Linked DNA regions of Homo sapiens: region 1 is linked to region 2. Evidence: promoter capture Hi-C in 16 types of primary human blood cells and fetal thymus (Javierre and others, 2016). All regions are on one chromosome and are shown on one strand. Each heading gives the region's core, a stretch centred on a gene start or on the middle of the fragment in contact. The rest is flanking DNA. Distances are from core to core; before and after follow the strand shown. Region 1 overlaps ZDHHC15 (zDHHC palmitoyltransferase 15). Region 2 holds the start of ABCB7 (ATP binding cassette subfamily B member 7).

The links. The method cuts DNA at HindIII sites, captures the fragments that hold promoters and counts their contacts. A CHiCAGO score of 5 or more calls a contact.
Region 1: a fragment that was not itself captured here is called in contact with the fragment with the promoter of ABCB7 in region 2 in 6 of 17 cell types (naive CD4 T cells, non-activated CD4 T cells, activated CD4 T cells and 3 more); the score reaches 8.1 in naive CD4 T cells.

What each region holds. Positions count from the first base shown.
Region 1 is chrX:75,517,914-75,521,594 of GRCh38, reverse strand. All of the region lies in intron 1 of ZDHHC15 (zDHHC palmitoyltransferase 15), which reads left to right. Among named protein-coding and RNA genes, the nearest start is that of ZDHHC15, 3.3 kb to the left of the region's middle. The HindIII fragment of the contact is 1,436 bases long and covers 901-2,336 here.
Region 2 is chrX:75,154,726-75,158,239 of GRCh38, reverse strand. It overlaps ABCB7 (ATP binding cassette subfamily B member 7), which reads left to right and starts at 1,957. Exons shown (of 16, transcript NM_001271696.3): 1 at 1,957-2,135. The coding sequence starts at 1,968. It also overlaps a transcript of UPRT not described here. RefSeq lists an enhancer at 1,847-2,276. The HindIII fragment of the contact is 6,846 bases long and covers 1-3,514 here.

The sequences.
Region 1 (3,681 bases), core at 369-2,868, 360 kb before region 2:
TCCTCCTTATTTGCAAAATGGTTCTCACAGTATAGCTTGTGCATTCAAACTCAGAATTCTACAATATTTCCCGACACAAACCCCAAGTCTCTCCCTTATATTATTCCCACTTTCCACTTTAATTCCCCCCGTTCCCCATTCTTATTATTATTGGCCTTGCAATGCTCTCATCAACTCACAATGGCGTTTTCATATTATATCCTGTCTTGTTACAATAGGGTCCCTGCTTTTCTCACAGTAAAATCTCCCCTTGTCCCTGTCTTCTCACATTGAAGAATCCCTGTCTCCTCTCAAAAGAGATTCCACTAATACTTGTCAGTCTTGTCACTTCGACACTGTAATTCCATCGCCAGCACCCTTAAACTTGTGGCCTACAATGTTCCCTATTCATCTAGTTTGGGGCTCCAATATGTTTATACTCCTCTCACAGTAGGACTCCTGACCCATTGGACATCCCCTCACTCCCAAGTCCTTCTGAGACTTCTTTATTTTTTCATACCAAACTCTTCTCACCTTAAAAATGATGGTAAGGATGCTGCTTTTTTGAACTCCGGGACCTGACTCCATTTGTAATTTTCTTCTGTTACATATTTGCAAAGCAATAGTCTACCCCAGGTAGACTGGGATAAACTAGGGAGGCAGGAGATGATCCTCTTTTCCAATATAGAACTTTCTATATTCTAATTCTATAATTTCCTATATTCTAATTCTAATTACCTCTCTGAATCACAATTGGAATTTTTTTTACCTCTTCCTTAGAGATATTATGGAAAATGCAGAAAGAGCTCTTAAAATAAATGTCATTAGTTGCCTTCATAGATACAAGTTAGCCTAGTTTTCTTTTGTATCTCAATCCAGTATTGGGATGCATTAAGTAGACTATGCAATGACTGGGAAGCTTTTCTATTCTCAGACCTTACTACTTTGGCTTTTTGAATGATTGATTGAAGGGTCAAAAGTTCAGCACCATTATTATGGTATGGACATTGCTCCTAGGATCAATGCCATATTGTAAACAACTTATTTTGGAGTTTTTCAGTATTGACTCATATGAGCTTCACCAAGATATATTTTAAAAATTAATGATGATAATGACTAACACTTATGTATTGCTTACTCTGTGCCAGAAAATGTTCTAAGTTCTGTAGATAGATTAACTATATATTAATTCATTTAATCATCACAATAACTATATGAGGCAGGTACCATTACTGTTTCCATTGTACAAATGTGTAAACTGAGGCACAGATGAGCAAACCAAGGTAAAGACCAAGTTACTGCAAATAATTGGCCTTCTATAAGTTCTTCTTTAGTCATGTAATATTAACAGATGAAAGGAAGCGTAGGACTTATTTGTTTGTTTTAGTTAACATACTTGCACCACACTGCTACATGCCAAGTACTATTTCTAGGTGACTACACACACAGACACTTAATCTTTATAACAACTTTCCAATGTATATACTATCATTACTTGTTTGTAAACTGAGGAACAGACAGAATAAGTAGCTTACCTAAGGTCACAGAGCTAGTAAATGGCCAAACTTAAAACCCAGGCAGTATGTTGCCACAGTCTCCTCTAAACTAATGCAGAGGTAAAAACTTTGTGACATACAAGCCAGATGTAGCCTTCAGATATATTTTGCCTGGCCTGCACAGTGTTTTCTTAACATTTTGCATCAGTTCCCATTATTTAAAAGTCAGGAGAATAAGGCAGCTTTGACTTTCAACTCTGGCTGAACCAGTCCCTCCTGCCATCATCAGTTTAACAATCTTGTAACAAATTAGCAACCTGGGTTTTGGAAAGGTTAAATCAAATTTTCCTAAGGCCACACATTTAGTAATAGTGAAGAGTTGGAAATCCAGGCTGCCTGATACCAAGGCCATACCTTTTCCAACACAAATAAATTAACAAATTTGCATTTCAATATGTCTCAAAAAGTAACATTAAGGACCTAACTTCTTTCCAGGGATAAAACCTGATGTCTTTCTCCCTAACGTTACATTAGAGCTGAAACCAAAAGAGATGTTTTTGTCCTTTAATTCTTAGAGTTTGAATTCTGCCATTTACTAGCCTGGAGACCTGGGGCAAGTAACTTCACTCTCTCAACCTCAGTTGTCTCACATGTACCTTGCTTCTACAGTTGTTCATCCATATGACAAATGGTTGCTTAGCACTCAGTATATGCCAGGTATTACTGCTGTGAGGCTCAAATAACATGATGCCTGAAAAGCATGCATCACAGTTCACAACACATTATAAGAGCTCATTAGATAGTAACTTGTGATTAGTAAAGAAATAAAGGATTCTTCCTGACCCAGGAAAATAAGAAGCTTAGCTTTTTAGAGAGGAGGGAAAGTAACAGTATCCATTTTATTGGGGTGAAATTTATATAACATAAAATTAACCATTTTTAAGTGTTCGCCTCAGTGCCATTTAGCACTCACAATGTTGTGCAGCCATCACCTCTATGTAGTTCCAAAATGTTTTTGTTATCCCATAAAGAAACCTCATAAGCATTAAGCAGTCACTCCCTGTTCCCTCTTCCCCCAAGTCCTAGCCAATTATTAATCTGCATTCTGTCTCTATGGATTTACCTATTATGGATGTTCCATATAAATAGAATCATAAAATATGTGTTCTTTTGTGTCTGACTTCTTCCAATTAACAAAATGTTTTTGAAATTGGTCCACATTATATTATGTAACAGTAATTTATCCCTTTTAATGGCTGAATAATAGTCTATTGTGTGTGTGTGTGTGTGTGTGTGTGTGTGTGTGTGTGTGTATATATATATATATATATATATATATATATATATATACCAGTTTGTTATCCATTCATCCATTAATGGCCATTTGGGCTATTTCTACCTTTTGTCTCTTCTGAATAGTGCTGTTACAAACATTCATGTATTTGTTTGAATATCTGTCTTCAATTATTTTGAGTATATACACCAGGGAGATGGATGGGGATAATTGGACTGTATGGTAATTCTATGTTTAACTTTCTGAGGAACCTCCAAACTATCTTCCGCAGTGACTGCACCATTTTACATTCCCATCAAGCAGCACAGAAGGGTTCCAATTTGTCCACATTCTCACCAAGACTTGTTATTTTCAGTTTTATTTTTATTATAGCCATCTTACTGGGTGTGAAGGGGTATCTCATTATGGATTTGATTTGTATTTCCATAATGAAAAAAATATTGAGTATCTTTTTATGTACTTGTTTGCCATCCATATATCTTCTTTGGGAAAATGTCTATTCAAGCCATTGTCCATTTTTTAAATGGGATTTTTAAATTGGGTTGTCTTTTTGTTGTTGAATTTTAATATTTTTTGCATGTTCTGAATACTTGATCTTTATCAGATACGTTATTTGCAAACATTTTCCCCCATACTTGATAGTATCATTTTATACACAAAGATTTTTAATTTTAATAAAATTCAATTTATCTATTTTTTCTTTTGTTGCCTATGCTTTTGGTGTCATATTTAAGAATCCATTACCAAATGCAAGAGCATAAAGATTTACCCCTGTGGGATTTTTTTGTTTGGTTGGTTGGTTGGTTGGTTTTGGTTTTTTGTTTGTTTGTTTGTTTTTTGTTTTTTTTTGTTTTTGTTTTTGATACGGGACCTCACTATGTTGCCCAGGCTGATCTCAAACTCCTGGGCTCA
Region 2 (3,514 bases), core at 708-3,207:
CCCCAGCAGTGTGCAACTCTTATTATGCCTCACGTTCTATTTCTGGGTGCCCTGGAAATTTTCTTCGGCTTATTTGGCAAATAAATATTTGCCTCACTTTAGCTCATCATAGAGTAACAACTTGGGTATTTCAATGTTATTCACACTTTTTGATCAAAACAGTTGGCTTACAATGAGCACTACTTTTGGAAAAAAATAATTTGGCTCCATTCAAAGACTTTACAACTGGGTGGTAAGATTCAGTGGCAATATTCAGCCCTAAGAGAAATCATTAGTAGAGTCTAGAGTTTCTCTAATGTATACTGTAGCTGTCTAACACAGAATAGATGCTGAATAAATATTTGTTGATGACAATATAGTCATTAATATGAAGCCATTACTGATCTACTGTCAACAATACAATAATAAGCTAGAAACATCCAATTAGTCACTAAGTCTTGCCAATTCCATCTCCTAATTGCCCTGCAATCGATCTACTGCCACTGCTACTGCTAGGTTGAGGCCTTTATTTTATGACTGAACTATTGCATTAACTTCATGACTTCAATATGAACTCCGTCCAATCCAACCTTCTCACTTAAGCCAGAGTAGCTTAATGGACATATAAATCTGATCATGTTACTCTCCTGATTAAAACTCTTCACTGGTTATAGGATAAAGTATTAACTTCTTAGAATGAAATAGAAGGCCCTTTACCATCAGGTCTCTGTTCACTCAGGTTAACCTCCTACTACTTTCCCAAACTCCATAGACTCCTGAACCTGAAAATATTTTCTTATGCCTTCTTGCTTTTAACATGTCATCTTCTTTACGTGTAATTCCAGTCAACCTCTTCAACTTGAATTCTATTTTTCTTTAAATAACTAGCTCAAGCATCCCCTTGAATGAATCCCAGAACAAAAAAGCTAACTGCATGGGCTACAGATTTCTGTTTTTCTTTATCAGACTTACTAGTCCAAAGTACCTCTTCATAAGAAGTCCATAATTATTTGTCTCTTTTGTGTGAAAAGTTGGAGAATGCAGCAGTGAATATAAAATTGCAACTGCATTATTGTCTCCGGGGTTTCAGGTAACATTTACAACTGGAAATGCAGTTTCCTAGATAACTGTAAACATATTTTGACATTTTGTTTGATAATAGTGGTGACAAAAGAATATAAGCCTGTCTTTAAACATGGTCTTCTCTCCATACATTTCACTTTACCACCCTTCAGCCAACCTAAGCGATTTTTCAAGAATTAGGGACGCTGCAAAAACCAAAGCGAAGAGCTAGAAAGAGTGACAAAATTAGTAAAGATGTCTGTAGTCTCTCTGTGTGTGTGTGTGTGTGTGTGTGTGTGAGACTGTCCCACGAGCAACAGACCAAAGGAAAACTGCCCCAAGGTTTGCGCAACAGAGAACAATCAGCAAAGTTAAAGTCCTTACAGGACAGAAAAGCAGTAAATCTTACAGCTGAAGCCTCCTCCCAGGGGAAATTAACGTCTGTAGTTTAATCTTTCCTTAATTCAGAAGGGAGTGAAGATAAGAATATGCATAGGGAAAATGGAGAGAGGGGAGCGTGACATTGAGTTGGAGGAGGTAAGAGAGTATTATGAGAGACAAGATGGGGTTGACAGATTTAGCAGATACAATATTTGGGACACACGCACGAAGAGATGATTCGTTGTTTATGTAAAATTGAAACTTAACTAGGTAGGCATCCTGTATTTCATCTGGCAACTCCAGGAAAAGAGAAAAATACAGTGTTACTCCAATATTCCCGGTTGTGTAAGGAAAACAATCAAAGCTCGGCCCTAAGGAAAAACAAATAAAAGAGGCTGTGCGAATGCATCCGAATCTTCAAACAGAATCCATTTCCGGTCTGGGGCCCTGGGAAAACAAGAAGAGGAGAGACAATTAAGGTAGCCGAATTCAGTCCGCCAGTGTCCCATAATCCTCTTCTCTCGGTTCCTCTTTCCTCGCTCAAGATGGCGCTGCTCGCGATGCATTCTTGGCGCTGGGCGGCCGCGGCGGCTGCTTTCGAAAAGCGCCGGCACTCCGCGATTCTGATCCGGCCTTTAGTCTCTGTTAGCGGCTCAGGTCCGCAGTGGAGGCCACATCAACTCGGCGCCTTGGGAACCGCTCGAGCCTACCAGGTGAGATGCCACTGACATGGAAGAATAGGGTGAAGGGCAAGGGGACCTGTAGGGAAAAGGTTGCCCTCCTGACCTCGGGGCAGAGAGAGCACCAAGAAGAAAGTCATGGCTAACTGGGAGCAGCAGTAAGTGAAGGAAATTAACGTCAGTAATTTGAGGAAAGGGCGAAGAAGAAAACCTTTGAGTTCAGCAAAGGGAAACGGGGCAGGAGGTTCTGGGCAGAGGACACCTGGAGCGCTGGAGGCTCTCGGAGTCATAGTTTTTCTCTCATATTAAGAGTTGGGGTAGACACCATTCCCAGCCTGCTTGCCTTTCTAAAGACGAGGAAGACTGGATTATTTTCCCCAATTAGTAATGGAATTTGGGACAGTTTATCTGTGGTTCAGATTTTACTCAGTTGGAATTAGCAATTCGGAGAGCACTGTAATGACAGCAAGCTATCTATAAACAGGTGGCGCCAGTTAACTCCCTTGCTGACAGGCGTGCTTCTTGATAGGCCAAAACCGTAACTATCTTTCCAAAACATAGACCGCCCTAAATTCTTGTATAAATATGACTGTCCTAGATCTGAAAAATACAGTGATGTTCTCTGTGCACAGGTCATTTTGGAAGCCATAGGCTACTTATCCTTAACTTATGAATGTAGCTATGGTTGTAGTGCCTCCTAAAATTTGAGTCCATTATTACCTCTCACTCAGGAACGGTTTTTTAAAAAATTATTTGTACTTAACTGTACTAAAGTATATCTTTTTATTTTCTGTGTATTGACAAGAGGTTTAATTGCCACCACGTATTTATCACTATCACTTTAAAATATTGTCAGTTTTGTATGAGAAACAACCTCTTAAATTTTGATTCTTCATCTACAAATATTTAACGTCTACCTTGTACATAGCCCTGTGCTAGATGATAGGGTACTAAGAGAGACATACAGTTATGCCTTCAAGGATTGTACAGTTTAGTTAAGGAGATTGGATCTATGCATTACAAAAATAACTGAAAAACACAGTGGTGGGTTAATTAGCAAATGAATAGTATGTACAATAAAGGCTATAGGCATCCAGAGGAAATAGTGATAATTAAGGACCAGGTTATAAAGAGTATTTCATGCTGGTGATAGAACTGGGGAGAATGTTCTGAACAGGGAGAATAGGGAATGACACTAAGCATGTGGAAGGCTGATGGAATGACATTTATAATTCATTCAGTAATTATTGAACACCTCTACAGGAGCAAACAAAATATAAGTCCTGTCTTTAAAGAGCTTAAAATCTAGTGGGAAATATGTAAATTAATCGGCAATTAAAATATAGTGGAGCTGTGTAATAATGGGAAAGGTACAAGGTATGGGACAGTATATGTGAGGGGTATTAAGTCTA